4 separate regions of the Homo sapiens genome follow, and all the other regions are linked to region 1. Evidence: promoter capture Hi-C in human tissues and cell types (Jung and others, 2019). All regions are on one chromosome and are shown on one strand. The core of a region is centred on a gene start or on the middle of the fragment in contact, and the rest is flanking DNA. Distances in the headings are between cores, read along the strand shown.

Evidence for each region. Contacts are between HindIII fragments. The study calls those that stand out against the background at their distance.
Region 2: a fragment that was not itself captured here is called in contact with the fragment with the promoter of IFNL3 in region 1 in 1 of the 25 tissues and cell types used here (mesenchymal stem cells).
Region 3: the fragment with the promoter of RASGRP4 here is called in contact with the fragment with the promoter of IFNL3 in region 1 in 3 of the 25 tissues and cell types used here (dorsolateral prefrontal cortex, mesenchymal stem cells and stomach).
Region 4: a fragment that was not itself captured here is called in contact with the fragment with the promoter of IFNL3 in region 1 in 1 of the 25 tissues and cell types used here (stomach).

Annotation. Positions count from the first base shown.
Region 1 is chr19:39,243,341-39,249,089 of GRCh38, forward strand. IFNL3 (interferon lambda 3) reads right to left here and starts at 1,666. Exons shown (of 5, transcript NM_172139.4): 1 at 1,448-1,666; 2 at 1,077-1,154; 3 at 668-817; 4 at 484-567; 5 at 213-390. The coding sequence starts at 1,627. The coding sequence ends at 292. It also overlaps the pseudogene IFNL4. The HindIII fragment of the contact is 34,684 bases long and covers 1-5,749 here.
Region 2 is chr19:38,524,120-38,528,098 of GRCh38, forward strand. RYR1 (ryanodine receptor 1) reads left to right here. Exons shown (of 106, transcript NM_000540.3): 71 at 1,213-1,383; 72 at 2,874-2,933; 73 at 3,528-3,665. Among named protein-coding and RNA genes, the nearest start is that of MAP4K1-AS1, 70 kb to the right of the region's middle. The HindIII fragment of the contact is 4,595 bases long and covers 327-3,979 here.
Region 3 is chr19:38,423,159-38,428,405 of GRCh38, forward strand. It overlaps RASGRP4 (RAS guanyl releasing protein 4), which reads right to left and starts at 3,061. Exons shown (of 17, transcript NM_170604.3): 1 at 2,911-3,061. The coding sequence starts at 2,933. RefSeq lists a silencer at 2,937-2,996 and an enhancer at 3,889-4,403. The HindIII fragment of the contact is 24,204 bases long and covers 471-5,247 here.
Region 4 is chr19:39,935,639-39,941,283 of GRCh38, forward strand. No RefSeq gene overlaps it. Among named protein-coding and RNA genes, the nearest start is that of FCGBP, 3.8 kb to the left of the region's middle. The HindIII fragment of the contact is 4,644 bases long and covers 1,215-5,645 here.

The sequences.
Region 1 (5,749 bases), core at 416-2,915:
GGACAGCACAGACTCAATGAACCTGCTGTTCTAGATGCTACTTTTAGGGTAATTTGTTATGGCAGCAATGCAAAGGAAATACACACCAACGCACACACAGTCCCACGTCATGGGTGTCTTTTCCTCATTGTTTATTTCAACAAGGATTTCAAAAAGTAGAAAAATAAACATTTTCCTGGAGGTGAGTTGGATTTACATACACAAATACATAAATAGCGACTGGGTGACAATAAATTAAGCCAAGTGGCTAATTTATAAATAAAATCTCAGGTTGCATGACTGGCGGAAGGGTCAGACACACAGGTCCCCGCTGGCAACACAATTCAGGTCTCGCGTGAGGAGGCGGAAGAGGTTGAAGGTGACAGAGGCCTCGAGGCAGCCAGGGGACTCCTGTAGGGAGGAGGGGATGGGTCAGGGGCTGTCTGGGTTCTGGGCTCCCAGTGGCTCCCCAGACCTCAGTCCCTCTCTTCCCGGGTCACTCACCTTTTTTGGGGCCTCCTGGAGCCGGTGCAGCCAATGGTGGAGGCGGCCCCGGGTCCTGGGCCCTGCCGTGGGCTGAGGCTGGATCTGTGGGCAGAGGAGGGCGGTGTGTGAGCCGGGGCCTTGGCCAGGGGAAGGACGCTGCTCAGAGCTCACAGACCTGGGTGCCCGGGCCCTGACGACTCACACAGGCCCGGAGCTGGGAGAGGATATGGTGCAGGGTGTGAAGGGGCTGGTCCAAGACATCCCCCAGGGCTGGGTCAGTGTCAGCGGTGGCCTCCAGAACCTTCAGCGTCAGGGCCAGCTCAGCCTCCAAAGCCACGGGGCGCTCCCTCACCTGAGGAGAGGTGAGAAAGAGCAGGTGAGGGGGGAGGTGAGGGGAACAGGTTGGGGGAGGAGGATAGAGAGGAACAAGTGAAGGTGACAGGCACAGGGGAGAGGGCACAGCCAGTGTGGTCAGGTAGGAGCAGAGGGAAGGGGTAGCAGGTGTGGGGAGAGGAGAGAGGGACAATGGAGAAGGAGAAGGTGAAGGGGCCACTACAGAGCCAGGTGAGCAGGGCTGGGAGGGCAGGGGTGGGCCTGACTCCCCCTCTCACCTGCAGCTGCCTCAGGTCCCAGGTCCTGGGGAAGAGGCGGGAGCGGCACTTGCAGTCCTTCAGCAGAAGCGACTCTTCCTAGACAGCAAAGGCACAGGTTAGCCCCAGCAGGAGGGGTGGAGGTTAGACCACTCTGATGGGATTGGAGGATGGCTGACAACAGGATAGGGGAGGTTAACTGCTGGGAGGATGGTAGAGGACCCTCTTCTTCAGGAAAACATGAGTCAGTCCCTGCAGTAGGAGCATGAGATAGCCCACTGCAGGGAGGGTGGAGGCTAGCCCAGTGAAGGAAGCTGGGAGTGGGAAAGCATGGTGACCCTTGGAGTGCGGGTGGAGGCTAGTCCATGGCAGGAGGGCAGGGGGAGACTCACTAAGGCATCTTTGGCCCTCTTAAAGGCCTGCAGCTCCTGTGGAGACAGGGACTTGAACTGGGCTATGTGGCAGCCCCTTGCATCCGGGAGAGCCCCGCGGAGCCTGGCGACAGGAACTGCTCCAGTCACGGTCAGCACTGCGGCCATCAGCACCAGCACTGGCATGCAGTCCCCGGTCATGTCTGTGTCACAGAGAGAAAGGGAGCTGAGGGAATGCAGAGGCTGCCCACTGAGGGCAGGGGCTGCAGGAGCTGAGCACGGACAGAGATGTGGGACTCACCTAGTTTCATTCCTGATCTCTGGTCTTTGTCAGCAGAAGAAACACTCTGAGGCTGTCACCCAGGGTCTGTTTGGGTCTTGTCTGGAGTCTCTGTTCTTTTCAGTCCCCTCTTCTGGATCTCAGACTGTGTCCTGGCTTTGACTCTTTCTGTCAGTTTTGAGCTCTGTCTGGGATGTAATTCCTGCCTGAGCTCCATGGGGCAGCTTTTATCCCTGACAGAAGGGCAGTCCCAGCTGATGTAGGAAAAGTGAAAACACAGCCTCAGGTAAGACACCGGCCACCAGGGGAGCCCCAGGCTGGGAAAGCCCAGAGCAGGGCAGGGCTAGTGAGCCAGATGAGCAGCTGGAGGGAAAGAGAAACTGATGGAGACTCAGGGGTAACCTACAGGAAGGTATGTTCCCAAGAGGATTCCACCTGCTCTGGTTTTGTTGTTGTTTAAGACAGGGTCTCACTCTGTCACTGCAGTGCAATGGCATGATCACAGCTCACTGCAGCCTCAAACTCCTGGGCTCAAGCCATCCTCCTCACCCAGCCTATTAAAGTGCTGAGATTACAGGCCTGAGCCACCACTCCTGGCATATATATATATATATATATATATATATTTTGAGACAGGGTCTTGTTCGGTCACCCAGGCTGGAGTGCAGTGCAAAATCTTGGCTAACTGCAACCTCCGCCTCCTGGGTTCAAGCAATTCTCTTGCCTTAGCCTCCCAAGTAGCTGAGATTACAGATTTGTGCCACCATTCCCAGCTAATTTTTATATTTTTAGTAGAGATGGCGTTTCACCATGTTGGCAAGGCTGGTCTCAAATTCCTGATGTCAAGTCATCTCTCTGTCTAGGCCTCCCAAATTGCTGGGATTTCAGTGTGAGCCACCATGCCCAGAGGCCAATATTTCTTAATTGCCCAGGCAAGGAAGGACTCAGGAATATGAGGCTCTGCTCAAGAATTGAGGTGTGACGAAGGACTTGAAGGACACCACGTGGGTGCCGTCTTTCTTAGGGAAGTTCAGGCAGTGGTGAAGAGCATGGGTCTTGGAGATGAAGGGTCTGGGGTTCAAACCTGGTTCTGACCCTCACTAGCCGTGTGACCTTGGCAAGGAGGGGTGCATTCAGCAACGCAGATTGCTAATGCACAGATTTGGAGAAAAAATTAATAACACAATTGTTTGTGTATTTATGTGAGTGATTATTTAATAGAATCCACTCATTAAGACCATACTAGGACCTCAGCTGGAGAGTTTAAAACGTGATCTCAACGGACACTACTCCTCCACAAGGCAAGTATGCTAACCCATCCTATAGGTGAGGAAACAGAGGCTCAGAAAAGTAATTTGCCCTGAATTCCACTGTAATTAACTGGCAGGGTCAGAACTGAAACTCAGGCCACCTGAGTCCCTGGCTCGGCCTCTTTTTTTGCTGTAAGGTGCACCTCACAATCATCATACGGAAAACAACCAATGCGATCAAAACACTCTTTGATAACTGGCAATAAATTTAAACCGGGAGACAGAATAGCAAATGCACAGGAACTTCACAAATACAAACACACGTAAGGGAATCCAAAGAACCACAGTCGGTTAAGGACCCTTGGGCCTTTCACTACCAAATCCCTCATGGATTGGTGTCCCTTAGATGCCGGATCCAAGAGTCACGGATTCACAGAATCTCAAAGCTGGCTGTGGGGCTACAAATCCGGGGTTAGGACCTGGTGTTGGGGGTGTCCTGGTAACCACACAAGGAGGAACTGGTCCCTGTTGCCTGGGGTCAGCCACGGTTTCCAGAGCTCAAGTTTTTTCCTGCCACAGCAACCGTTGGAGGGTCGTACAATGCACCCCGAGGAAATATCGTGGCTTCCTGGAGAACTGTGGTCTCTTCCCTGTAGAAGGACCCGCTCCTCTTATATCTGAGACAGTGGATCCAAGTCAGGCCCAAGGCTGCGAAGAAGTTTTCGTGCCTCAGCACCCATTGACTGAGAGCCTCGCCCGGCCAGCCCAATGGACGACAGGAGCTGCTTTCGGCAGCCAATGGCGTGGAGGTTTCCGTGCTGCCAGAGGGGGCGGGGTCAGAGGCAAGGCCCAGAGTGTGCAGCCAGCCGGAGCTCCCACGTGAGCAGGCGCAGGAGGTTGAAGACCACGCTGGCTTTGCGGCACCGAGGCGAGTCCTGGAGCCAGGGAGGGAGGGCAGCGGGGCTAAGCCAGGCTCTTCCCCCCGCCCCCGGAATCCCCCTCCAGTCCCGCTGCTCGCAGCCTCAGTCCCGTCCTTGTCAGCCTCGCCTGGTCCTCCCTGCGGGCTAACCCTGTATTGCCTGTTGCACTCACCGCTCTCCGGGGTTTGTGACGCCTCTTCTGGGCCCCGGGGACCTTCCTGGAGGAGCCTGGCCGTGCCAGCTCAAGCTGGAGGTGGGACATGAGGCAAATGGAAAAGGCGAAGGACGAAGCCCCTCTCTGCATCTGCCCGTGGCCCTCCCAGCCGCAGACTCGAGCCCGGATTTCAGGACACCCAGAGGACCCGACTCCGGTCTGGATGGGTTTTTCCGCTAAGCAGGACAGATTGGCAAAGCGCTGGGGCTCGCCGTGGGCCTGAGGATGCAGAGAAGCTGGCGGGGGAGAGGGGCGGCGGGGCGCGGCCGTCACTCACGCAGGCCGCCACATCCCTCCCCGCGGCCGCCAGCAGCTCCAGGATCGGGCCGGCGCCGGGGAGCAGCTCCGAGCGGTGCAGGCCGCTGAGCACTGCCTGGGCGTCCGCGATGCCCCGGGCCACGTGGCGGAGCCGAGCGCAGGACTGCGGGGACGAGAGGGCGTTAGAGCGGGCCGCGCCCGGGCCATGCCTCTCCCGCCCACTCCCGGGCCTCACCGATGGCCGCGGAGGATCCCTCCTGGGGCGGAAGGAGCAGTTGCGCTGCCCCCAGCTCAGCGCCTCTTCCTCCTGCGGGACAAGCGGCGCTTATCGCATACGGCTAGGCCCCCTCGCCAGGGCCCCTAACCTCTGCACAGTCTGGGATTCCTGGACGTGGATGGGTACTGGCAGCGCACGGTCGTGCCTGTCGTGTACTGAACCAGGGAGCTCCCCGAAGGCGCGAACCAGGGTTGAATTGCACTCCGCGCTCCCCCAGCAAAGCCCCTCGCCCCGACCTGGAGCCGAGTCCTCCCGGCAGGGCTCCCTTCTGTGATTGACCCTGAGCCTGCGTTCGCGCTGACGACGGGGACTGCGGGGGTCTCGTGGTGGGAATTGTGGGCGCTGACATAGGAGAGGCGCCTGCTGGGCGCTAGGACGCAGGACCCCTTGGGACAGGAACGGGTGTATGGGAACCCGGTGGGGCCAGGGTCCCAGGGGGCACAGGGGCTGGGCGGTGACTTACGTAGCGGTCCCTCAGCGCCTTGGCAGCCGCCAGCGTCCGGGGCTCCAGCGAGCGGTAGTGCGAGAGCAGGCAGCGCCGGGGGGCCTTCTGCGATCACCGTGCACAGGACCCACAGCCCCGCGGCCACTGCGGCCCAGACACTCGGCCGCATCTCTGCTTCTGCAGCAGGCGAGAGACGTCAGGGAAGCCAAAGAGAGGGTCCAGCGCGTCCAGCCCCCCGCCTTGGGTTAGGATCCCAGGGAAGGCAATGCTCGGAGCGTGAAGGCACAGCACACACAGTGGGAGAGAGAGTGGGAGCCGGCCCCCTCCTCGCCTTGGCCTCTGCCCTCACTCCTGTCTGCAGTGCACCCTCTGTGCCTCGTGCTGCAGCAGGTGCTGCCGTCCACTGTCCCCTGGGAGGCGTCCAGAGCCGTCTCCACCTGGGCAACAGTGCCTCGACGGTCCATGCTGGCTTTTATGCGCAGGGCTGAGAATGGGGTTTGCAGCCGGGCTTTCCCGTCCAGGGCAAGCTTTCCCAACATCAGAGCTGGCCCCAGGCCTCTGGGATCCCAGTCGGGTGTGAGGACTTCAACCCGAGGTTGGCCTGTGCCCGGGATGGCTGCCCTCCAACACTCGGTTTCCAAATTGTCTCTGTCCCTGTTTCTACTGTCTGTTTCCTCTT
Region 2 (3,979 bases), core at 1,374-3,873, 720 kb before region 1:
CAGCTTTTGGCAATTTGACTTCTTTTCTTTTTCTTCTTTCCTTTTTTTTTTCTGGACTTTTGTTCCCAAAAAAAAAAAAAAAAAGAAAAAAAGAGCAACTCTCAGCTTTTACCAAAGCATCGTGGGCTGAGGTCAAGGGTAATGGGGGTGGGAGAGGCACACGGAGCATGGTTGGGGAGGGGGCAGCACCCTCGCCGTGGATGGTTTAAAGCTTGGGCTCTGGACTGTATGGACTGGGGTTAGAATCCTGTCTTGATAGTTAGCCGTGTGACCTTGGTTGGGGTCATCCTTTTGAGCCTCTGAGGGCATCCAGCCAGCAGCCCCCACCCCAGGGCTCTGCGAGGACTCAGGGAGAAGCTGCATGTGTGGCCTGCAGCAGTGCCTGGCACAGGGGTCATGCTCAAAGTTGCCAGCCGGCGTGGATGTGGCTCTGCCCAAAAGCTTGTCATCAGGGCTTCTCGCTGGCGTGACTGGGGTGGCCCTGGCCCCGGGTCTGCACCCAAGGCTCCAGAACACGGCTGTGGGACTCTGTGCCCTGTGTCTCTGCTTCCAGATCTTTCTGGATGTCTCTTGCATCTTTGGTCTTCCTGTCTCCTTGTCTTTTTCAGTCTCTCAGTGTCTTTTTCTTGCAACTTCTCTTGTCGCTTGAACTCTTTGTGGACCTGCATCTTTGTTTCATTCTTGAGAACTTGGTTTTGGGATGTGAAGTGTGGGGTTGTGCATGCTGTGGAGGGGGTATTGTACTGGGGTTCCTAGGGGATTCTGGAAGAGGACTGCTAGAAGTTGAGACAGGCCCAGAACGGGGGAAAATCTGGATGGGCCTGGGTTAGAAATTGGAGCCAGGCAAGCATGGTGGTATGTGCCTGTAGTCCCAGCTACTTGGGAGGCTGAGGCAGGAGGATCACTTGAAGCCAAGAGTTCAAGTCCAGCCTGGGCAACATGGCAAGACACCATCTCTAAAAATAAATTTGTTTAAAAAACAAGAAACTGGGAATTTGGGTTGTGGACTTGGGTCTGGAGGGTCTCCGGTCATGGCTGTGGGCCTGAAGTGTAGAGTCAGCAAGTCTGGGGTGGAAATTGAGGTGTCGTCGGCAGTTGGGGAGGGAGTGCCTGGTGTCCAGACTGGGGCCTGGGGTGTGGATGATGGCCGCGGGTTGGGGCTGAGGCATGGGATTGGGGCTTGGGCTGGTGCTGAGCCCTGTGTCCCCACAGTCCGGTGGCTCGGACCAGGAACGCACCAAGAAGAAGCGCCGGGGGGACCGGTACTCTGTGCAGACGTCACTGATCGTGGCCACACTGAAGAAGATGCTGCCCATCGGCCTGAATATGTGTGCGCCCACCGACCAAGACCTCATCACGCTGGCCAAGACCCGTTACGCCCTGGTGCCTGCCCAGCCCCGTCCTCGGAACCTTCCAGGATGCCGCCCAGCACCCACTGAACCCCTGGGACCTTAGGGAACAACCACAATGCCACTGAGCCCCCCAGGTCCCTGGGAGCCTTCCCTTCAGACCCCACTGAGTTCTTTTCCGGGATGCTGAGGACTCACTGTGCCCCTGGGATGCCCTGAGGACCCCGTTCAAGATATTGCCAGGGCACCACAGACCTAAGAGCCCTCACTGAAACCTAGAAAAGCTCTAGGACCCCTGGGACCCGCATGAGGACTGCAGGACCCCACTGCCCCCCCACCGGACCATGCCAAACCTGCTGAGACCCTGAGAGTCCCCCCAACAAGATGAGCCCCTGAGATCCTCTGAACCCTCCACCAAGGCCCCTTCAAGCCCCTTGGGACCTACTGAGACCCTCATGACCCCTCCTTCCCTCCCTGCCAAGACTGAACCTCTGGGTTCCTGCTGAGCCCTTGGCTCACCATCCCTTTCCTTCAGGACCCTGCTGACACCTGGGCCCTGTTGAAGCCCAACTAAGCCCCCAAGACTCTCAGGGGCTCAGGGAGCCCTGCGACCCTGCATAACTCCCCAGGATCCATGAACCCCAAGCCCGGGACTGTACCCAAACCTCTGAGGTCTCAACTGTCCTGGAGACCAAAATACCCGGGCTGTAGAACCTCTTAAGCTTGCTGGGATATCAAGGAGGCCTCCCGGGACCCCACTTACCCCTTGTGTGGGACAACAAGGACAATCTCCCTCCTCTCCGATCCTTTCCAGCTTCAGGGACTCTAAGGAACCCTCCCAGGATTCTGCCCCAAGACCCCTATAGCCCTCCCCCCAGGACCACACCAACACCCTGACAACCTACTAACCCCCTGGACCCCTAAAGACCACCGACTTCTCCCCTGCTACCACCAGGACACCCCTTCCCTCAGAACCTCAGGCACCTCCCAGGACTGCTGAGTCCTGCCAGGACGCCAGAGAGCCCTCCAGGGCTCCATGGACCCCTCACCTTGGTCCTTGAGGGCTCCCCGTCCTAGAACCCCAGTGAACCCCCACCCTGCTGATGCCCCCTTTGGCCCCTGTGTAACCAGTGACTCCGTTGACCTACGTGATCCCCCATGACCTCTGCTGACCCCTTCTGATCTTCAAAGACTCCCTGCCCCACTCTGACCCCCCAGTCATCCCTCTTTGGCCATATTTGACCTTTGATGAGATCCTCTTGTCACCCTTTGCCTCTTCCCAGACCTCCACGAGGCCCCTCGAATCCTTACTGTATCTTCAAGGTGACTCTGTGACCCTCCGGCCCCTCTAGGACCCCTTCTGACCCCGTCAACCTCTGCATCCTTTTGTTTCTCTCAGACCCCCACCCCCACCCCAGAAAAACCTCTTCAGTTCCTGGGGTGCTGGGCCTGGAAGGAAAGGGTTGTGGGTCAGGAAGGAGGATGGGACCTCCAGAGTGACCCAGCCTGGCTCTGTCTCCCCAGAAAGACACAGATGAGGAGGTCCGGGAATTTCTGCACAACAACCTTCACCTTCAGGGAAAGGTATGCCTCCTTCCTCTGCAAGCAAAAGAAGCAAGTCAGAAAGTAACCACAATATTAGTGAAGGTTTGAGCATTTACCAAAGACCAGGCATTGAAGAAAGACCTCAAAGGTCAGGAGTTTGAGACCAGCCTGGCCAATGTGGCGAAACCATGTTTCTACTAAAAATACAACAATTAGGCCGGGCACAATGGCTCATGCCTGTAATCCCAACACTTTGGAAGGCCAAGGCGGGCAGATCACCTGAGGTTAGGAGTTCGAGACCAGCCTGGCCAACGTGGTGAAACCCCGTCTCTACTAAAAGTACAAAATTAGCTGGGTGTGATGGCGGGTGCCTGTAGTCCCGGCTACTCAGGAGGCTGAAGCAGGAGAATCGCTTGAGCCCAGGAGGCAGAGGTTGCAGTGAGCTGAGATCGCACCACTGCACTCCAGCCTGGGTGATGGGGCGAGGCTCCGTCTCAAAACAAAAAGATGAAGAAGAAGAAAGGCCTCAACATGCACTCACCCATTGAGTCCTCCCAAAAACGGAAAGGGGACATCCGGCGGACACTGTGGGAAGGGTCCCTCACGCCGGCCACTCCTTCTTCCTCCCTTCAGGTCGAAGGCTCCCCGTCTCTGCGCTGGCAGATGGCTCTGTACCGGGGCGTCCCGGGTCGCGAGGAGGACGCCGATGACCCCGAGAAAATCGTGCGCAGAGTCCAGGAAGTGTCAGCCGTGCTCTACTACCTGGACCAGGTGGGTGGGGCCGGAGGGGTCTTTCTACTGGGTCTCTGGGCGGAGCCTGGCGGGGGGAGGGGCTTCAAGGATGTGGGTGGGGTCTGGAGATGACTATTAAGTTTTGGGGCAGGGCAGGAGGTGGAGCCTCGAGTTTAAGGCGAGGCTTAGAATGGATCGGGGGAGGGGTCTGCTGCTTAATCTTGCATCTGGGGGCGGGACAGGGAAGGGGCAGATCTTTAGGTCTAGGGGTGGGGCCTAGAGGAGATGCGTTGAGTTTGTGGGCAGGGCCTTGGGTGGGTCGTAGAATTGGTCGTGGCCTGGCTCGTGGTCCT
Region 3 (5,247 bases), core at 1,811-4,310, 820 kb before region 1:
AGGAATTGCCTCCTCAGGGCTCCCGTTTGGTCTCTAACACCCTCCCCTCCTTCCTCCCACAGCCCTCAAGAGAGCAAGGCTCTTGGACCAGTGTGATGGCTCACGCCTGTAATCCCAAAGCTTTGGGAGGCCAAGGTGGGTGGATCACTTGAGGCCAGGAGTTCGAGACCACCCCGGCCAACATGGTGAAACCCCCATCGCTACTAAAAATGCAAAAATTGGTCAGGCGTGATGGCGGGCGCCTGTAATCCCAGCTACTCAGGAGGCTGAGGCAGGAGGGTCGCTTGAACCCAGGAGGTGGAGGCTGCAGTGAGCCGGAACTGCATCACTGTGCTCCAACCTGGGTGACAGAGTGATTTCTGTTTCAAAAATAATAATAAAAAAATTAAAAAGAGAGGCCAGTCACAGTGGCTCACGCCTGTAGTCCCAGCACTTTGGGAGGCTGAGGTGGGTGGATCACTTGAGGTCAGGAGTTCGAGACCAGCCTGGCCAACATGGTGAAACCCCATCTCTATTAAAAATACAAAAATTAGCCAGGCGTGGTGGTGGGCTCCTGTAATCCCAGCTACTCAGGAGGCTGAGGCAGAAGACTTGCTTGAACCCAGGAGGCGGAGGTTGCAGTGAGCCGAGATCGTGCCACTGCACTCCAGCCTGGGCAACAGAGCGAGTCTTAGTCTCAAAATAATAATAATAATAATAGTAATAATAGTAATAATAATTCTCCCTCTGCCTGGTGCCTCCCAGAGGCTGCTGTTCCTGATAGGGGAAGAGGGTAATGGAGAGACAAGGATGGTGGGAGCAGGGAGGCTGCTGAATCCAAGCTTCAGACGAAAGTAGAATCCAGAAATTTTTGCCAGCTGTTGTGACTTCGTGTTAGTCACTTAATTTCTCTGGGGCTCAATTTCCTCGAAGGAAAAATGAGGATAGTCCTTGGACCTTCTCCAGGGATTTCTTTTTTCTTTCTTTCTTTCTTTTTTTGGAGACAGGGTCTCACTCTGTCACCCAGGCTGGAGTGCAGTGGTGCGATCTCAGCTCACTGCAACCTCCACCTCCCGGGTTCAAGCAATTCTCCTGCCTCAGCCTCCCAAGTAGTTGGGACTACAGGCACGTGCCACCACGCCGAGCTAATTTTTGTATTTTTAGTAGAAATGGGGTTTCACCATGTTGGCCAGGCTGGTTTCAAACTCCTGGGCCCAACTGATCCTCCCACCTTTGCCTCTGAAAGTGCTGGGATTACAGGTGTGAGCCATCACGCCAGGCTCCCACCTCTACCCTTTTTCAGACAGGGTCTTGCTCTGTCTCCCAGGCTGGAGCACAGTTGTGCAATCAAAGCTCATTGTAACCTTGAACTCCTGGACTCGAGTGATCCTCCTGCCTTAGTCTCCCAGGTAGCTGGGACTACAGGTGTGCACGACCATACCCAGCTAATTTTGTGTGTGTGTTTGGGTGTGTGTCAATGGGGGGGGGGGTCTCACTATATTTCTCAGGCTGGTCTAGAACTCCTGGCTTCAAGTTCTCCTTGTCTTATCCTCCCAAAGTGCTGGGATTAGAGGCATGAGCCATCGTTACTAGAAGGGACATTTTAAAGTATTATATATGTCCTAGGCTAAGGAAGGAGCATTCTAACTAAGTCAGCATTTCCCTAAGTGTGGGCACCCAGCTAGTACCAAAAGCATCACCTGGGAACTGGATATCAATACAGATTCTCAGGTCCCAACCCAGACCTACAAAATCAAACACTTTAAGGCTAAGGGTGGTGGCTCATGCCTCTAATCCCAGCACTTTGGGAGGCCGAGGTGGGTGGATCACGAGGTCAAGAGATCGAGACCATCCTGCCCAACATGGTGAAACCCCATCTCTACTAAAAATACAAAAAAGTAGCTGGGTGTGGTGGTGCACACCTGTAGTCCCAGCTACTTGGGAGGCTGAGGCAGGATGATCGCTTGAACCCGGGAGGCAGAGGTTGCAGTGAGCCAAGATTGTGCCACTGCACTCCAGCCTGGCGGCAGAGCGAGACTCCGTCTCAAAAAAAAAAAACAAAAAAAAAAAAACCAAACACTTTAAAGGTAAGCCCAGCAACCTGTATTTTACAAGCCCTCCAGACAGTTCTGAGGCTCGCTCCAGTTTGAGAACCACTGGTCTAGAGTGTCTCATTGAGTACTTACAGGCCTCTCCGAGGTAGAGGATATGATTGTTCTACTGACAGAAGAAAAACCCGAGACACAGAGCAGTTAAGTGACTTACCTAAGGTCACACAGCTAGGAAATTAGGCAGCCAGGAGTCTACCACTAAACTGCTGGGTGGGGAGGAAAGCCCTTTGCCCATCAGAGTGGTGCTGGGGGTGGCAGGAGGAGTTACCCAGGCTAGGGAGCCACCCACCATCTGCCTCTGTGGGGACAGAAGGGCCAGCTTGCCCAGGAGATGAAGCCCATTCCAGAACCGGCCGCACAGCCAGCCACTAGGCCCTGTCCTGCAGCCCCCTGTAGGGGTCTGGAACAGCCAGGAGTGGTTTAAGAGGCAGGGGAGTCGCCTTGCCCTGTGCCACACTCCCCTCTCCTGGGCCAGGCCCTGCAGGAGCCTGGAGTTTCCAGTCCACGGGGATGGGGAACCAGGAAGCCCCCAGGGAGGGCAGAGACACTCAGCCCAGGCCAGGGATGGAGGTGGGGTGATGAGGAGTGGAAAAGGGGCACGGAGCAGCTCAAACTCCAGGGACAACACGGTACAGATGCCACATACAAGCGACTGCAGCCGTAGCTGGCTCCAGACTCCCTGAAGCATCCACCTGGCCCCCCTGCGCCTGATCCCAAAGAAGTCAGGAATCCTGCCACCCTGGCGAGTGATCTCCCCAGCCCTCCCATGCAGAGGGAGGCCTCAGGGTGCTGCCGGGCTCCCTGGGGAGGGTCCTCTCACCTCTTACTGTCTTTTCTGTTCATGCTTCCCGCGTGGGGTGAGGAGGCCGGGGGTCTTGCAAGAGTAGGGCTCAGCTCCTCCCCTTGCCCAGGACTCCAGCTTCTCAGCCCCTAGGGAGCTGGGGCCTCCTCGGTGCTTGGGAAGGAAAGAGGAACTGCCCCTCCCCACCCACCCTCAGGCCAGGGGGAAGGAAGAGGCTGGGGAGAGACCGAAGGCCCCCCTCCCCCACACGGGGATCCCTTCTGCTGAGGTTTCCGGCATCGCTGGCTCTCCCACCCTCAAGCTCCCCGGCGGGCTCTCTATCTCCCCCATCTTTCGGTGTCGAGACCCGTCACTGTCATACTTCAATAAAAGAAGGGGCTTTTCTTTTTAAAGCATGACTGATATTTATGTAAAAACACACACACTCACTCAAAAAGATAAGTCTGTCTGTCTAGAAGGACATATTCATATATATAATTCATGAAGGTTTGAATGGAAACTCACAAGACATAGTATTTTGTATATTTCTTCATAGGCGTCTCTTATTCCTAGTTTAAGTGATACCATTTGTACCCTGGAAAACATTTTCACTTTCTGACTTTATTGTAACAAACCTCCACATAGCACCTACTGTGTACCACACACTGCTGTAAGGACTTTAAAAATATTAACTCATTTAATCCTCACACAATCCACTGTTACCTTAAAAAAAATTACATACCGGACCAGGCACGGGGGCTCACAGGGGCTCACGCCTGTCATCCAGCACTTTGGGAGGCCAAGGCAGGCGGATCGCTTGAGTCTAAGAGTTTGAGACCAGCTTGAACAACGTGACAAAACCCCGTCTCTACAAAAAATGTAAAACGTTAGGCCGGTGTGGTGGCTCACTCCTGCAATCCCAGCACTTTGGGAGGCCGAGGTGGGCGGATCACCTGAGGTTGGGAGTTTAAGACCAGCCTGAGCAACATGGAGAAACCCCGTCTCTACTAAAAATACAAAATTAGCCAGGCGTTGTGGCACATGCCTGTAATCCCAGCTACTCGGCAGGCTGAGGCAGGAGAATTGCTTGAACCCAGGAGGCGGAGGTTGCCGTGAGCCGAGATCGCGCCATTGCACTCCAGCCTGGGCAACAGGAGCGAAACTCTGTCTCAAAAAAAAAAAGTTAGCTGAGCGTAGTGATGCACACTTGTAGTCCCAGCTACTCAGGAGGCTGAGGCTAGAAGATTGCTTGAGCCCAAGGAGGTCGAGGCTGCAGTGAACCATGATGGTGCCACTGCACTTCAGTCTGCGTGGCAGAGCCAGACCCTGTCTCAAAAAACAAAAAACAAAAAAAAAAAACACACACACACATCAAAAAACATTAGAGATGGAGGTAAAGCCTTGGGGAAGCCCCTCCCCATCCCCTGCCTTTCTTAAGCAGGGTGTGACCAATATGACACGTTGTCGAGTTTCGTCCAAACTGCTGTCTGTGCGTTTAAGCACATCATATAAACATGTGCTCCTAGAAACAGACTTTTCTTTTGAGTGTGCATTTTTTTCTTTTTACCTAAATGTGTCATGCTCGACACTTTTTTTTAAATTGAAGTACAAAAAAGATCACGAATCATTAAGTATTTAGGTTGATGAAATGTCACCAACTGAGCAAACCTGTGTGACATTCATACAAATCCAGACACAGAACATTCTCACCCTCCACAAGCCCCCTGTCTTTCTTCCCAGCACGAATTCCCACAGATCCCCACTCGCCCGAAGTCTGGCGCAGTAGTTTTGTCTTGTTTTGAGCTGGATAAAAATGGACTCCTGTATTGAATCTGGGTTCTTTCTCTCCACGTCTTGTCTTTGCAGTTCTTCCATGTTATCATATTTGGTTATAATTTATTCCTTTTTTTGGCCGGGCGCGGTGGCTCACGCCTGTAATCCCAGCACTTTGGGAGGCTGAGATGGGCAGATCACTTGAGGTCAGGAGTTCGAGACCCGTCTGGCCAACATGGTGAAACTCCCATCTCTACTACAAATACAAAAATGAGCCAGGTGTGGTGGTGCGTGCCTGTAATCCCAGCTACTTGGGAGGCTGAGGCAGGAGAATCGCTTGAACCCGGGAGGAGGAGGTTGTAGCGAGCCGAGATTGCACCACTGCACTTCAGCTTGGGCGACAGAGCGAGACTCTGTCTCAAAATAATAATAATAATAATAATAATAATAATTCCATATAGTCTTTCATTATGTGACAATTCCATGACTTATATATATATATTTATTTATTTAGAGATAGGTGTTGTGGATAGTGACTAAGCGGGCTGGTGGCATGCTAACTTCTATTTTTTTTTTTTATTTTTGAGACAGAGTCCTGCTCTG
Region 4 (5,645 bases), core at 2,287-4,786, 690 kb after region 1:
GTCCCAGAGATGTAAAAAAATTCTCAAGGACTGTAGAGCTGGGGGGCAGCCTCCTCTGGTGTGGGCGCAGGCCAGGCTGCAGGTGGGCACTGGGACTGAGGCGGTGTGTGAAGAAGGGACAATGGCCTCTGTTTCCTGGTTCCACACAGACACCCAGATTCTACTTCTGATCCCAGACACCTGCTCCTCAGTGGTGCTGGAAACAGGATATAGGTGGCCAGGGACTCCCCAGCCTGTGAGGACTGAGGAAGAGCCAGGACCTGTTGGTTTTGGAGTTTTTTTGTGTGTAGGGAGGGTTTGCTCTTAGCAGGGGCTAGCTGAACAGGTTTAGGGGACTCTGTGCCTCTCCATCACCCCAGAATTTGCCTGAGATGGGAGGTGGAGGTCTAGGTTGCACACAAGGAGCAGAAGAATGAGCTGAAAGTTGGGCTTTCTCAGCTGGAGTCAGCTCCTCTGAGGGGCTGGCCTGACCCATGCCCTGCCTGCCTTCTCCCTGACTCAGGATCTCATTGTTTGCTGGGGGAGTCTCCCCTGGGACCAGCAGCTGCAAAGCCTGGGTGCTCTCTTGGACCAACACCCTAGCAGCTGCTGCCCCTGGGGCTCCTCCTCTCTTATCACAGCAGCCTGGGCCTCTGGGAGGCCAGAGCGGGTGGGGGGCTTCTCTCTCCCTGGAGCTCCAACCAATCCCCACGCCCACCCAAGAAACGTTCCTGGAGGGAAAGATAAAGGCTAAGAGTTGACTGGGACATAAAGTCAACCAGGAGAATGAGGTGAGTAAATAGGAGACTGGCTAAAAGCCAGAGATAACAAGAAACAAGCAGGGGCAGGGGACCCACAGGAAGTGGAAGCTTTGGGAAAAGGATGCCTGGGTCCCTGAGGGGTCTAAAAGTTGGTGGAAGGGGCTGCTGGGTCCCTGAGACAGAGAAGGACTCGGAGGAGGAGACGTCGGGATTCCTAGGAGGAAACAGCAATTGCAAACCAAGATGTGAAAATTCTCTGTCTGAGGCCAGGCGCAGTGGCTCAGCTTATAATTCCAGCATTTTGGGAGGCTGAGGCAGGAGGATTGCTTAAGGCCATGAGTTTGAGACCAGCCTGGTTCAAGACCAACATAGTGAGACCCTGTATCTACAAAAAAATACAAAAATTAGCCAGGCACGGTGGTGCACGCTTGTAGTCCCAGCTACTTGGGAGGCTGAGGCAGGAGGATCACTTGAGGCCACAAGGTCAAGACCAGCCTGGGCAACATAGTGAGACCCTTTCTCTACAAAAAATATAAAAATAAACCGAGTGTGGTGGCATGCACCTGTAGTCTCCACCATTCAGGAGGCTAAGGTGGGAGGATTGCTTGATCCTAGGAGTCTGAGGCTGCAGCGAGCCGTGATCATGCCACTGCATTCTGGCCTGGGGAGAAAAAGAAAAAAGAAAATAAAATCCTCTGTGTGCCATATGCCTCTTGTAATTAGAGGCACTCAGAGACAAATGGGAGGTGAAGGGAAAGAATCAGGGTGAGTTTCATGGGTGTTTCTGGCCCTCAATTCTCTCTAAGCCTTGGGGTTTCCCCTGGTTGATCACAGAAAGAAGCTTCCTGCCTTCAAAATTCATCATCGCTCTCCACAGCCAGAGTCCCCAGAAATGGGGTGGTTGTGGTGGGAGATCTCACAAATTAATACTCTGTATGTGCCAATCCCCTTGGGTCTTCTTTCTCACTCCTTTTAAGGCCCAAGTGGTGTGTGTGTGGGTGTGTGTGTGGGTGTGTGTGTGTGTGTGTGTGTATGTGTGTGTGTACACCCCTGTGCTTTACCCTGTATTATATCAATTCTCAGGAAACCCTTTGGTGACCCGGGAAATAAACTCTGGGGACACTTCCTTATGGTCAGAGAAATCGCATCCATCCCTCCACTGGCAGCCTTGCTCTGAGCCCAAACAAGGGTATTTGTGTACCTGAGCCTTTCGGCCTCTTCCTGCTTATCTGCTTCCGTCTCCTTGCAGCATGGGCACTGGCTATACCATCCCAGACCCCTGGGCCCCTCTGACTAGTCTTGGCTTTATAGACTGGAGCACAGTGGAAGAGAATTTACTCTCTCCAGCTAAATTCAGGCTTGCGGGCAATTTCTAACTTAATTCCTTTACGCTCTGGATCCCACAATCCGACTTCCATAAGCACTGAACGTTTTGTTAAACTCTCCAATGACCCATTATTTGCCACTTGCCTCTAGTTCCTTCCCTCTAACATTTGACATTCACACTTCCTCTCTGCCTATAATAATTGAAATTCTATAGGAGATGTTCTCTGACCATAATGGAATCAGCTTGAAATGAATAACAGAAAAACAGGAAAATCTCCACTCACAAGGATATTGAGCAACTCACTTCTAAATAATCCATGGGCCAAAGAGGAAGTATCAAAAATACATAGAATTAAATGAAAATGAAAAGAAGATATTTCAAAATATGTGGGATATAGCTAAAGGGAAATTTATGGCATTAAATATTTACATTAGGAAAGAGGAAAGTTCTTAAACCAATATTCTAAGCTCTTCTTACACAATAAAGTAGTAAAAGACCAAAACAAACACAACGCAGAAGAAAGGAAATAATGAAGAGCAGAAATTAATAAAACTGAACATGAGAAAATCAATGAAACGAAAGAACTACTTCTTTGTTGTTGTTGTTGTTGCTAACAAGAGCAAGTCTTTGAATTTCCCAAATGTATTTGTGGATTTGTCTATTGTTGAATAGAGCATTCTATAAATATCAATTAGATCCTGTTGATTGATGCTGTTATTCAGTTCTTTGATATTCTCACATATTTTATCCTGGTAGTTCTATCAATTTGGTGAGACTGACGTTTTTAATTCTCCAACTATATTTGTGGACTTGTCTATTTCACCTTTCAGCTCTATCAGTTTTTGCTTCATGTACTTGAATCTCTGTTGTTTGGTACATATACCTTAGGATTGCAATGTCTTGGCAGAATGATCCTTTGTTTTTAGCAATGTTTTTCGCTCTGAAGGAAAGTATTTTCGTATTAATATAGTACTTCCTTCCTTTTAAAAATTTATATTTAAAATTATATATATATTTATTTATTTATTTATCTATTTATTTTTTAGACAGAGTCTCGCTCTGTTGCCCAAGCTGGAGTGCAAGGGCATGATCTCGGCTCACTGCAGCCTCTGCCTCCCAGGTTCACGCAATTCTCCTGCTTCAGCCTCCCAAGTAGCTGGGATTACAGGCACCTGTGACCACGCCTGGCTAATTTTTGTATTTTTGGTAGATACGGGGTTTCACCATGTTGACCAGGCTGGTCTTGAACTCCTGACCTCAAGTGATCTATCTGCCTTGGCCTCCCAAAGTGCTGGGATTACAGGGGTGAGCCACTGCACCCAGCCTAAAATTTATATTTATAATAACATAAATTAATAAAATTAATATATATTTCTATTCTTTTATTTTCAACCTACCTATGTTGTTATATTTGGAGTAAAGTTTTTTGGAGACAGTATCTAGTTGGATCATTTTTTAAATCCACTCTACCAATCTCTGGCCTTTTATTTCATGTAAGGAGATAGACTATTTACATTTAAAGTAGTTATTGATATGTTTGGACTTAAGATTAACATTTTAATATTCATTTTCCATTTGTTCCATTTCTCATTCTTATTTTTTCTTGCATTCCTGTGAGTTACATGAGCATTTTTTAGCATTCCATTTTGATTCATATTATTTTCGAATACATAATTTGTAGAATTTTCTTAGCACTTGCTCTAGTACTACAATATACATATGTAACTGATTATAATCCAACTTATGAATATTTTACCACTTTGATTGAAGTGTTGAAACTTTACATCCATATAGATCCTTTTACCCTCCCACTTATACATATGCGTGTGTGTGTATACACATATAACTATTTTAAGTATTGTCTCTTCCTATAGACATCAGATAATACTATAATTTTTGCTTCAACCAACTACGATTTTTAAAAACTCATGAGAAGGGTAATCTGCTATAGTTATCACTATTTTTGTCCATTCTGCTGTTCTTCCTTCCTTTCTAAAGTTCTGAGCCTTTTCCTGTAATCATTTGGACTTTGGAGAACTTCCTTTAATCATTCTCTAAAAATAATTCTGCTGACGGCAAAGTCTTGTAGTCTTCCTTCATCTAAAAGCTTTTTATTTCTTCTTCATACCCCGTAGATAGTTTTGCTGCATATAAGATTCTCGGCTGGGCACAGTGGCTCACGCCTGTAATCCCAGCACTTTGGGGTGCTGAGGCGGGCAGATCACAAGGTCAGGAGTTCCAGACCAGCCTGGCCAACATGGTGAAACCCTGTCTCTAATAAAAGTACAAAAATTAGCCGGGCATGGTGGCGGGCGCCTGTAGTCCCAGCTACTTGGGAGGCTGAGGCAGGAGAATCACTGGGAGGTGGAGGTTGCAGTGAGCCAAAAGCACACCACTGCATTCCAGCCTGGAGGACAGAGCGAGACTGTCTCAAAAAAAAAAAAAAAAAGATTCTCAGCAGATAGTTATTTTCTTTCAGCACTTGAAGAGTATTGCTCCAGGCTTTCTTCTCCATGGTTTTTGATAAGAAATTTTTTGTCATTTGATCAGTGTTCCCTATAGACAATTTATAATTCCTCTCTAGCTGCTTCCAAGATAGTTTCATTGTTTGCCTTTGTTTTCATAAGTTAGTTATACTGTGTTTTGGCATGGAATCCGTCAGATTTATTCTGTTTAGCTTCTTGCATCTGTAGGTTTATGTCTTTTGCCAAATTTGGGAAGGTTTGGTCATTATTCTTCAAATATTTTTCAGCCCCACTTTCTTTTCTCCTTCTGTTAATCTGATAATACAAATGTTAGCTATTTTATAATTGTCCTGCAGGTTCTCTGAGCCCTTGTTAGTCATTTTCTGTTTCTCTTTTTTAAAGTTGATTGTCTCTCTGTTTTTTGGATTGGGTAATTTTTATTGTTCTATCTTCAAGTTCACTTCTTATTTCCTTTGTCATAGTTGCTCTGCTCTTGAGCCTTTCCAGTGAGTTTTTATTTTAGTTATTGTATTTTTCAGTTTTATCATTTTCATTTGATTCTTTAAGAACATACTTTCCATTTCTTTGGTGAGATTTTCTTTTCTTTCCCATCTTTGCAAGGAATTTCTACTTGCTTGGTGAAACATTTTTATGATGGCTACTTTAGATCTTTGTCAGATAATTCTAAAATCTTTCATCTCAGTGTTAGATTGTTGATTGGCTTTTCTCATTCAAGTTGTGATTTTTCTGGTTGTTCATATTATGTATGATTTTTAAATTATATCCTGGACATTTCTGGTATTATGAGAGGAGACCCTGGATCCTATTTAACTCTTCCATTTTAGCAGTCACTGTTTTTAGGTTAGCATGCAGGTCCTGGCCTACTTTTGTGTGCTATGATTCCAATGACAATTTAGTTTTCAGAGCCCTTGCATTATTATTCCGGTCTATTTCATTTGCCTGGTGCTGGTTGAGCTCATACCCAATTCCTGTTAGTACCACCAATGGAGGTTAAAAGCATTTTCTTGGGGCCTGCTTGGTGCTGCTACGTTAGGAGTAGGAGACACTGGCACAAAAGGGTGGAGAGTACTTCCCTGGGCTGCGTGGTGCCAG